Linked DNA regions of Homo sapiens: all the other regions are linked to region 3. Evidence: promoter capture Hi-C in human tissues and cell types (Jung and others, 2019). All regions are on one chromosome and are shown on one strand. The core of a region is centred on a gene start or on the middle of the fragment in contact, and the rest is flanking DNA. Distances in the headings are between cores, read along the strand shown.

Region 1 (3,715 bases), core at 130-2,629, 400 kb after region 3:
TGAGCCACTGCACCCAGCCTTTTTTTTTTTTTTTTTTTTTTTTTTAAGAGACAAGATTCACTGTGTTGCCCAGGCTGGCCTCGAACTCCTGGGCTCAAGCAGTCCTCCTGCCTCAACCTGCTGGAACTATAGGCACATGTTACCAGTGGGCCCAGCTGCTGGGATTGGCACTTTTTTTTTTTTTTTAGTCAGAATCTCACTCTGTTGCCCAGGCTGGAGTGCAGTGGTGTGATCCGGCCCGGCTAATTTTTTGTATTTTAGTAGGGACAGGGTTTCACCATGGTGGCCAGGATGGTCTCGTGATCCACCCGCCTGGACCTCCCAAAGTGCTGGGATTACAAGGCATGAGCCACTGCGCCTGGCAGTTTTGTGAACTTGAACTGTGGACTTTATCTGTCCTGATTGTGTTTCTCATTCATTCAGCAATTATTATTTTTTGAGATGGAGTTTCGCTCTTGTCACTCAGGCTGGAGTGCAACAGCGCGATCTTGGCTCAATGCAACCTCTGCCTCCCAGGTTCCAGCTATTCTCCTGCCTCGGCCTCCCAAGTAGCTGGGATTACAGGAATACACCACCACACCCGGATAATTTTTGTATTTTTTTAGTAAAGACGGGGTTTCACCACGTTGGCCAGGCTGGTGTCTAACTTGGGATCTCAGGTGATCTGCCCACCTGGGCCTCCCAAAGTGCTGGGATTACAGGTGTGAGCCACCGCACCCGGCAGTTTTGTGAACTTGAACTATGGGCGTTATCTGTCCTGACTGTGTTTCTCATTCATTCAGCAATTATTGTTTTATTTATTTTTTGAGATGGAGTTTCACTCTTGTCACCCAGGCTGGAGTGCAATGGCACCATCTCAGCTCAATGCAACCTCTGCCTCCGGGTTCCAGCTATTCTCCTGCCTCGGCCTCCCAAGTAGCTGGGATTACAGGAATGCACCTCCACGCCCGGCTAATTTTTGTATTTTTTTAGTAAAGGTGGGGTTTCACCATGTTGGCCAGGCTGGTCTCTAACTCCTGACCTCAGGTGATCTGCCCGCCTGGGCCTCCCAGAATGCTGGGATTACAGGTGTGAGCCGCCGCACCCAGCTCATTCAGCAATTATTTTATCAATGTTCAATGTGCCCAGCATTATTCTAGGCTCTAGGGAAATAATCCATTGACAAAGCAGGGTCTACCAATGGGCTTGTCGGAGATTGCTGGGAATGGTTGATGGGGGCCAGTTTGCAGTTGGGGTGAGGTGGCTTTCCTTGAGGCAGCCTGGCTGAGTGAAGTCGACTTTGCTGACCAAGAAGGCTCCTCCCAGGGGTGGGGAAGCCTCGGCAGGGGGCGGCATGTGAGCGCCAGAAGGCAGGGATTTCACGGAAATGAAAGTGGAAGCAAACAGCCTGCGAGCAGAGCCTCCTGAGGTGTATTTCGGGTCTTGCTGGGGCTGAGAGAGACCACAGCCCTTTGGGGGGTACAAACAAGAGTTCAGTTGCTGTGAATTCTGCCACTGTGCCCAGCTCTGAAGCCTCAGCTCTTGCCAAACAGACCCGAGACCCATGTCAGCCCCACTGGATGCCGTAAGTGAGGAGGAGGGAGTTGGGAAGTGGGGAAACAGGAGTAATCCTCTTGGCTAGGAACCTGCAGATATCTCAGGGCCTGGCAGCCAAGCCTCACCCTGCCCATCTCAGACCTGCTGAAGGGCTGGGGAGAAACACAGGGCTGGGGTTGCCTCTGCAAGAGTTGGTTCCCTAACCTATTGCCTCAGACAGGAGGAGCTCATTAAATCCTGTGTGTGTACACTTCTCTGGAGAGAGAATCTGTAGTTTCCATCAGATACTCAGCGGGTTCTGTGACCCAAATAACAATTGTTCTAGGCCGGGCGTGGTGTCTCACGCCTGTCATCCTAGCACTTTGGGAGGCCTTGGCAATACAGTGAAAATCCGTCTCTACTAAAATACAAAAAATTAGCTGTGTGTGGTGGTGTGCGCCTGTAATCCCAGCTACTTGGGAGGCTGAGACAGGAGAATCACTTGAACCTGGGAGGCGGAGGTTGCAGTGAGCCGAGATTGCATCACTGCACTCCAGCCTGGGTGACACAGCGAGACTCTGTCTAAAAAAAAAAAAAAAAAAATTAAACTAAAGGAATTAGGCTGGGTGTGTTGGCTCACACCTGTAATCCCAGCCAGCACTTTGGGAGGCTGAGGCGTGTGGATCACTTGAGGTTAGGAGTTCGAGACCAGCCTGGCCAACATAGCAAAACCCCATCTCTACTAAAAACACAAAAATTAGCCAGGCATGGTGGCACACACCTGTAATCCCAGCTACTAGGGAGACTGAGGCGGGAGAATTGCTTGAACCTGGGAGGCAGAGGTTGCAGTGAGCCGAGATTGTACCACTATGCTCCACTCTGGGCAACAGAGGGAGACTGTCTCTCACACACACACACACACAAAATTTATATATATATATATATATATATATACTATAAGAATTATACTTTAAGAATCACACTAGGTAATCCATAGATTAACACGGTAAAAACTTATCCCACTGCTTAGCACCTACAGAGCATTCAATATGTGTTTCTTCTTAATATTATTATTGCCAACCTTTTCAGAACCCCAGTTCCCCAAGGACAATCCCTTTTTTTTTTTTTTTTTTGAGACGGAGTCTCACTCTGTCTCCTAGGCTGGAGTACAGTGGCATGATCTCGGCTCACTGCAACCTCTGCCTCCCGGGTTCAAGCGATTCTCCTGCCTCAGCCTCCCAAGTAACTGGGAGTACAGGCACGTTCCACCATGCCTGGCTAATTTTTTGTATTTTTAGTAGAAATGGAGTTTCACCGTGTTAGCCGGGATGGTCTTGATCTTCTGACCTCGTGATCTGCCCCCCTCAAGCTCCCAAAGTGCTGGGATTACAGGTGTAAGCCACCATGCCCGGACTTTTCTTTCCTTTTTTTTTTTTTTTTTTTTTTGAGATGGAGTTTCACTCTTGTTGCCCAGGCTGAAGTGCAATAGCATGATCTTGGCTCACTGCAACCTCTGCCTTCCAGATTCAAGTGATTCTCTTGCCTCAGCATCCCAAGTAGCTGGGATTATAGGCACACATGCCACCACGCCTGGCTCATTTTTTTTTTTTTTTTTTTTTTTTGAGATGGAGTCTCGCTCTGTCACCCAGGCTGGAGTGCAGTGGCAGGATCTCGGCTCACAGCAAGCTCCGCCCCATGGGTTCATGCCATTCTCTTGCTTCAGCCTCCCAAGTAGCTGGGACTACAGGCACCCGCCACCACGCCCAGCTAGTTTTTTGTATTTTTGGTAGAGATGGGGTTGCACTGTGTTAGGCAGGATGGTCTCGAACTCCTGACCTCGTGATCCGCCTGCCTCAGCCTCCCAAAGTGCTGGGATTACAGGCGTGAGCCACCGTGCCCAGCATGGCTAATTTTTTGTAGAGACAGGGTTTCAGCATGTTGGCCAGGCTGGTCTCGAACTCCTGACCTCACATGATCTGCCTCCCTTAGCCTCCCAAAATGCTGAGATTACAGGCTTGAGCCACAGCACCCGGCTTTATATACGTTAAATTGGGCCATCTTTTTCAAATAAAAATCCAGATTTTTTGTTTTTTGGAGACAAGATCTCACTGTTTTTTCCAGGCTGCAGTGCAGTGGCTGGATCATGGCTCACTGCAGCCACCTCCACCTCTAGGGATCAATAGATCCTTCCATCTCAGCC
Region 2 (3,556 bases), core at 636-3,135, 310 kb before region 3:
TCTCTTAAGCAGGCACCCCCACCCCATCAGGTGCCCAGATGTCAGTGCATGGCAAGGGTGGCCCTCTGCCCTCCAGACCTGGGTGAGAGGACTTGAAAACCTGAGGAATCTGCTCCCATCAACTGACTTCCACACCTGCCTGAAGGGAACTGCTGGAGGGCACAGGTGCCAAGTGGGACCCACCCAAATGTGGCAATGGGTTTGTATCCAGCCACCGACAGGCTGCATGACGGTGGCAAAGTCACTTCCCCTCTCTGGCCTTTGTTTTTCCACTTGTAAAATCATCTTTATGGTCACTTCCAGCTGTGGCACTTGGCTTTCATTCCAGTTGACCCCCTAGCTCTGTGTCTGACCCTCCCCTGCCAAATCCATTGCTCAGAGTGGGAAAGGAGAGGAGAGGGACTATACTTCCTCCTCCCTGGGGCCCCCTGCAGAGCATCTGGGAAGCAAGGCTTCCCTACATCCTCCATGCACCCCCTTAGAGTTTTCAATTCCTTTCCTCGTGATCCTGCCAACTAAGACACTGTGACCACACAGAGAAGGTGGGGAGAACGCAGACATTTTGGCTTCTGCAGCTTTGAAGTTCTTTTTTTTTTTTTCCTCTGAAGTTAAAAGAATGAAACTGGGAGAGGTAGTAAGGGGCAAGAAAGGAGAGTGGAAATGGAGAGAAAAGGGCAGCTCTGAGAAGCAGCTGGGGAGGGAGGCAGATGAGAATGCACCCCCCCCAACAGAACATGCAGTCTTGGCCCAGCTGTGCTGTGAGTGGGCAGCTGGGCTGGCCCCTCCTCTGGTGCTGCCAACCCGCTGCCAGGCAGAGGGGAGGCCCAGAGGAGAGGGAAGCTGGGCAAAGGGGATGGAAGGCGTCCAGCCCGACCTTACCAAACCCCTTGGGCCTCGTGGGAAGGGGCCTCTTGGAGAGGGGGACTGAGGCTCTAGACAGGATATTCACTGCTGTGGCAAGGCCTGTAGAGAGTTTCGAAGTTAGGAGGACTCAAGACGGTCCCTCCCTGGACTTTTCTGAAGGTAGAACCAGCCTCATAAGTAACTAGGCTGGGTGAACGGGGGCGCTGGCTAGTTTATGGATCACAGTCGGCTGGTGAGGCCACGTGCCTACTGTGTGGCCCTGGGTGGCCCCGGGCAAGCCCCTTTCCCTCTCAGGACTTCCATTTCTTACCTGCAAAATTGTGGAGAGGGGGAGGGCTGAAACACATGACTGCCAAGATTCTTTCCAGTTCCTCCGTCAGGGTTGAGTTTAGATGGCCGGAGTAAAAGAAGGAGGGAGGTGCTGCGGTGGTGGGGGTGATCTTGGCTTCACTAGAATCCCCAGTTCTTCCCCTCTCTACAGTTTTGTCTCTGAGGTCACAAAACCTGTGGCCCCCAAGACACACATGCGCACACACGCGCGTGCACACACACACCCCACACATTTATTTTTTAATCTAGGGGCTCAAAAGATGACACGCGCCAGAGCTGGAAGGCGTCGCCAATTGGTCCACTTTTCCCTCCTCCCTTTTTGCGGATGAGAAAACTGAGGCCCAGGTTTGGGATTTCCAGAGCCCGGGATTTCCCGGCAACGCCCGACAACCACATTCCCCCGGCTATTCTGACCCGCCCCGGTTCCGGGACGCTCCCTGGGAGCCGCCGCCGAGGGCCTGCTGGGACTCCCGGGGGACCCCGCCGTCGGGGCAGCCCCCACGCCCGGCGCCGCCCGCCGGGAACGGCCGCCGCTGTTGCGCACTTGCAGGGGAGCCGGCGACTGAGGGCGAGGCAGGGAGGGAGCAAGCGGGGCTGGGAGGGCTGCTGGCGCGGGCTCGCGCGCTGTGTATGGTCTATCGCAGGCAGCTGACCTTTGAGGAGGAAATCGCTGCTCTCCGCTCCTTCCTGTAGTAACAGCCGCCGCTGCCGCCGCCGCCAGGAACCCCGGCCGGGAGCGAGAGCCGCGGGGCGCAGAGCCGGCCCGGCTGCCGGACGGTGCGGCCCCACCAGGTGGGTGACCCGGTGGCGCGTCCTCGGCGGCGCGCCGAGAGGGGACACTCTACTGCCGCCCCGGCACCTCCGGCACCCGGAGCTCGACGGCCGGGCGCAGCGCGGGGATCAGTCCCCGGCACTGCGAGGGAGTTGGCCCAGCGCAGACGAGGGACGGGGGGACGTGGGGACAGGGGTCGGGGATGAAAGGCAGAGGCCAGGGAGGGCGCCGTCCTGGCACGCCTCGGAGAGGGAGCACCTGTCGGGCTGGACCCGGGGAGGCACTAGTGCACAGATGGGGGAGCAGCCGAAGAGGGGAGCGCCCAAGTCCTCAGCCCTGTCTCCTGAACAGCCCCAGCCACGTGCCCGAAAAGCCCTAGCCGTCGAGTGGGAGCCGTCGTGGCGCTGGCCTAACTTCGGGTTGGAATATCTCCCCTTCCCAGAAACCGGGCCCGAGGTGGGCTGGGGGATCCTTGCAGCCCTCTCCAGGGGGCCTGTGGGCCTCCCGCCGTCAAGTTTCTCTTTCAGTTTCTGGCCGTCCCCCTCACTAGGGAAGCTCCGGTGGGGCGAGGGGAGAGGAAGACGGGGAGGGCACCTGCCTCTGCAGAGCACCTTCCCCTCCCCTTCAGCGGGTTCCTTGTTGGAGGGGATGGGCGGCCCTCCACTCCTCACCATCTCTGTTCCCGCACAGGAAAGCTATCTGTGGGAGGGGAGGGGCCTGGCCTGGCCGCGGTCCAGGGATAGGTAGGCATGGCAAGGCCAGGGGCAGGCCCGGTTCCTTGGCCTCTGCAGAGGAGAGCGCTTCAGCGCTCGGCTCGCCCTAGGTGAACGGCCATGGCGGGCTGGATCCAGGCCCAGCAGCTGCAGGGAGACGCGCTGCGCCAGATGCAGGTGCTGTACGGCCAGCACTTCCCCATCGAGGTCCGGCACTACTTGGCCCAGTGGATTGAGAGCCAGCCATGGTAGGCACGTCCCGCCCTGCCCCTCCTCAGAGGGTCCCTACCATCCAGGCCCTTTGGCCTCTAGTTTTACTCATGGTGGTTTGGTGTGACTCTGGTCCTGCCTGTCCTTCTTTGTGCGGAAGGGGTGGTGCCCCTGGGAAAGGGGAAGCCTGGGAGGACAGAGAATGTTTTTAGACTCGGATGTCTGTGGAGCTGCTGGGAACAAGTCTTGTGGGCCCTGGAGTGCCCTCGGTCATGAGCCTGGGGTTTCCACTTTATTCCAGCTCCCTGACCTCCTTGCCCAAGGAGGTGCCACAGTAGGTTTTTCTCTTCTGCCCTGCCCCAAGGGATGCCATTGACTTGGACAATCCCCAGGACAGAGCCCAAGCCACCCAGCTCCTGGAGGGCCTGGTGCAGGAGCTGCAGAAGAAGGCGGAGCACCAGGTGGGGGAAGATGGGTTTTTACTGAAGATCAAGCTGGGGCACTACGCCACGCAGCTCCAGGTGGGTGTAGGCTCTGGGCCACCTACGGGGAGGAAGCATCATCTTGTTCCAGCATCAGAACCCCTGGGTTTTTTCCTGGCCTGGCCACTGACTCACCATGTGACCACGAACTTATTGGGAACTTTTCTTCGATTTCCCCCACCCCC
Region 3 (3,964 bases), core at 137-2,636:
GGTTCCAACTTTTTTTTTTTTTTTTTTTTTGAGACGGAGTCTTGCTCTTGTTGCCCAGGCTGGAGTGCAGTGGCGCGATCTCGGGTCACCACAACCTCTGCCTCCCAGGTTCAACGGATTCTCCTGCCTCAGCCTCCCAAGGTAGCTGGGATTACAGGCATGCGCCACCATGCCCGGCTGATTTGGCATTTTTAGTAGAGATGGGGTTTCTCCATTGTTGGTCAGGCTGGTCTTGAATTCCCGACCTTAGGTGACCTGCCTGCCTCGGCCTCCCAAAGTGCTGAGAATTATAGGCATGAGCCACTGCGCCCAGCCAAAAGTTTCCAATTTTTTGATGTAATAAAAGCTGAACTATACATCACTGAGCATGTTACTGGGTCAAAGGCATTAACTATTTTAAACAAATAGCTTTATTGGTCGGGCACCGTAGCTCACACCTGTAATCCCAGCCTTTGGGAGGCCGAGGCAGGTGGGTCACTTGAGGTCAAGAGTTCAAGACCACTTTGGCCAACATGGTGAAACTCCATCTCTACTAAAAATACAAAAATCAGCCAAGACATGGTGGTGCACGCCGGTAGTCCCAGCTACTTGGGAGGCTGAGGCAGGAGAACTGCTTGAATCTGGGAGGCAGAGGTTGCAGTGAGCTGAGATCATGCCACTGCACTCCAGTCTGGGCCACAGAGTAAGACTCCGTTTCAAAAAAAAAAAAGTAAGAAAATAGCTTTATTGAGATAATGGTTTGTATACGATAAAATTCTCTTTCAATTCATCTGCCAGCAGCAGAGATGAAAAAAAAATCACAATGCTGTACGACTAATAGCCTTATGTAATTTCAGAACATTTTCATCACTCCAAAAGAAACCCATACCCATTAGTATTCTTTCTCCATTTCCCCCAGCCCTGGAAAAGCTTCTTAAGTGGCTTAAAATATGTTACCAAACTACTTGCTAGAAAGGCTGTCCAATTTATGTTCCTATCAGCCATATGCCCATTTTTCCATATTTTCCCCAGAATTAATTATGATCATTAAAAATACTTAAGGCCAGGTGTGGAGGCTCACACCTGTAATCCCAGCACTTTGGGAGGCCAAGGTGGGTGGACTGCTGGAGCCCAGGAGTTCAAGACCAGCCTGGGCAACATGGTGAAACCTTGTTTCTACGAAAAATACAAAACAATTAACCAGGTGTGGTGACACACACCTGTAGTCCCCACTACCTGAGAGGCTGAGGTGGGAGGATGGCTTGAGCCCAGAGGTTGAGGTTGCAATAAGCCATGATCACACCACTGCTCTCGAGCCTGGGCGACAGTGAGATCCTGTCCCCCGCCAAAAAAAAAACTTAAGATAGAAATTAGTAAATAATTTCCATTTACATATATTTGAATTCTTTTCTTATTTGTGAGAGTGAAATTTTATATATCCATTGATTTTTTTTTCCCCTTTTGTGAACTGTCCCTCCACTCTGTCAGGGACTAAAATCCAATTAAATGATCAGTCTAAATAAAATATCCCTGGAATAGCAATTGGTGTCCAGAAACATCGTGAGAAATTCCAGAACCAAACATAAACTTTTGTGATTAACTATACCATGGAGCCTCACTATTAGTACCAGTAAATTAAAGTTTGCTATAATCATAAATAATGACCACATGTCTATTTTCAAAGACATGATTTCTAGGTTCCTTTGTTATTACAGATTAAGATTGTCTCAAGGGCACTTCAAAACAAAGCATCCCATTCTACAGGGACAGAAAGCCTGTTACTGTACAGCACTTGTGACCGCCTGGTTAATGAGCCCAAGTCACCGGTAAATTCAAAGGAAAAATTAACCCAACCTATATCATGCAGTGACAGTTGTTGCTTGCAAAAAAACCAGAAATGAAATCAGCTAGCTGCTAACAGTGGAGAGAAAGCACTCAACCATACAATTAGGGCAGATAAAAACTAAAGGTAAAGAGAGGGGAAGTAAATAAACCAAGGCATCCTTGGGAGTCTTCTCGGCTCACAAAGACAAGAACCCTGCAAAGACTATCATCAGGAACATTCACTCAACAGATTTCATTAGAAATCTGATGTGTAGCCGGGCGCGGTGGCTCACGCCTGTAATCCCAGCACTTTGGGAGACCGAGGCGGGCGGATCACGAGGTCAGGAGATTGAGACCATCCTGGCTAAAACGGTGAAACCCGGTCTCTACTAAAAATACAAAAAATTAGGTGGGCATGGTGGCGGGCGCCTGTAGTCCCAGCTACTCGGGAGGCTGAGGCAGGAGACTGGCGTGAACCCGGGAGGTGGAGCTTGCAGTGAGCCGAGATCGCGCCACTGTACTCCAGCCTGGGCGACAGAGCGAGACTCCGTCTCAAAAAAAAAAAAAAGAAAAGAAATCAGATGTGTAGATTTTTTTTAACAGAACAAATATCTCTACTTAAATGGGCTCCCCATCTTCCATTTCTTGTTTCTATTATTTTTTACTCAAATCCTAACCTTCTAACTCAGAATTGCTGTATATCCTTAATCACTTTTTTGGGTCATTTTTATTTATTTATTTTTTTGGGGGGGCGGACAAAAATAAAATTTTTACATTTCATTTGTGAAATAACAAATTCTATAATAACCTCCTAGAAATACAGTATGGTTCACTGAGACTAGTGACTGCAAAAAGCAGATCCCAACAGAGATCTCTACTTGGGACTCAGCTTGTGGACTGCTCCAAAACAATATTCCTAATTCATAGACTATGTAGATTCACAGATTGTTAAAAACCACAAAGCAGTCAAGGTGCAGTGGGTCATGCCTGTAATCCTAGCACTTTAGGAGACCAAGCCGGGAGGGCTGTTAGAGATGAGGAGTTTGAGACCAGCCTGGGCAACATATTGAGATTCTGTCTCTACAAAAGTTTTGCAAATAGGCTGGGCCCAGTGGCATGTGCCTCTAGTCCCAGCTACTTGGAAGACTGAGGCAAGAGGACTGCTGGAGCCCAGGAGGTAGAGGCTGCAGTGAGCTATGATTGTGCCACTGCACTCCAGCCTGGGCAACAGAGGGAGACCCTGTCCAGCCCAACAACCCCCGATTCCCCAGCAAAAAAAAAAAAAAAAAAAAAAAACTGAAAGAGCTCAGCAGTTATGTAGGCCTCCTTGAACTATCTCTTCATGTTAGGTGGGAGAGGGAGCTTGGAGTTCACACATTTCCAGTGTTCATTTACCCTCCTCTGATCTCAGAGTACAAGTCAAACCAAAAAGTTACCCAAACCTGTTCTTTTCTGATCCTGTCAGGATACATGCTTGTTGACTCTCACATTCTTCCCCCAAATCACTCATTCACAGATGAGGTTGAGACTAATGAAAACACAAGCTATTGGAAGGAACGGCCTGACATTTCTATTATTATGCTAGAGACAATAACAGATCAGTGACCAGAAGTAATCTAGGCTGGAAGACCTCTGATATGGCCACCATAAATTCTCTGGTACCTGAAAAAAAAAAAAGTATGAAAACCTTGGAATACTATGGTGACAAGGTATCTACATCTATCTCCATCTTTTTTTTTTTTTTTTAAGATGTAAGAGGGCATATTCACAGTTACGGCAAAATATGACTGAGGATACAAAACACTGAAAATTAAGAGCTACCTACCTGAATTCTGATGGGTTTTTTTTTGTACTCCTATCTCCTAATACCTCAAAATGCATAAAAATCTCAGTTAATGATATGTCATTTTTGTCCCATTATTCAATACAATAAAAGAGAAACTAAATATTTCAGATTTGATTTTTCTGACTTGAGCTAATGATCCTCCTCCCTTTCTTAAACATTTAAAATGTTTGTTAACTGAACAGTCAGTCACTCTTCCACATTTCTAAGCGAAATGTCAACACTCATACTCAATATGACACTACTAGAATGTGAAGCCCAAATTTCATTTTAAATCTCTAATTACCTACCAAGGAAGCTCATTTCCCCAAACAATTC

Evidence for each region. The method cuts DNA at HindIII sites, captures the fragments that hold promoters and counts their contacts. A contact is called where the count stands out against the background at its distance.
Region 1: the fragment with the promoter of IFI35 here is called in contact with a fragment that was not itself captured in region 3 in 1 of the 25 tissues and cell types used here (spleen).
Region 2: the fragment with the promoter of STAT5A here is called in contact with a fragment that was not itself captured in region 3 in 2 of the 25 tissues and cell types used here (dorsolateral prefrontal cortex and lymphoblastoid cells).

The regions. Positions count from the first base shown.
Region 1 is chr17:43,005,405-43,009,119 of GRCh38, forward strand. IFI35 (interferon induced protein 35) reads left to right here and starts at 1,380. Exons shown (of 7, transcript NM_001330230.2): 1 at 1,380-1,564. The coding sequence starts at 1,544. RefSeq lists an enhancer at 1,240-1,549. The HindIII fragment of the contact is 8,301 bases long and covers 1-3,715 here.
Region 2 is chr17:42,286,613-42,290,168 of GRCh38, forward strand. It overlaps STAT5A (signal transducer and activator of transcription 5A), which reads left to right and starts at 1,886. Exons shown (of 19, transcript NM_001288718.2): 1 at 1,886-1,986; 2 at 2,790-2,927; 3 at 3,254-3,410. The coding sequence starts at 2,800. It also overlaps a transcript of STAT5B not described here. RefSeq lists enhancers at 600-659, 943-1,443, 2,890-2,949 and silencers at 1,460-1,539, 1,560-2,239. The HindIII fragment of the contact is 10,924 bases long and covers 1-3,556 here.
Region 3 is chr17:42,601,620-42,605,583 of GRCh38, forward strand. All of the region lies in intron 1 of RETREG3 (reticulophagy regulator family member 3), which reads right to left. Among named protein-coding and RNA genes, the nearest start is that of RETREG3, 5.8 kb to the right of the region's middle. The HindIII fragment of the contact is 8,726 bases long and covers 1-3,964 here.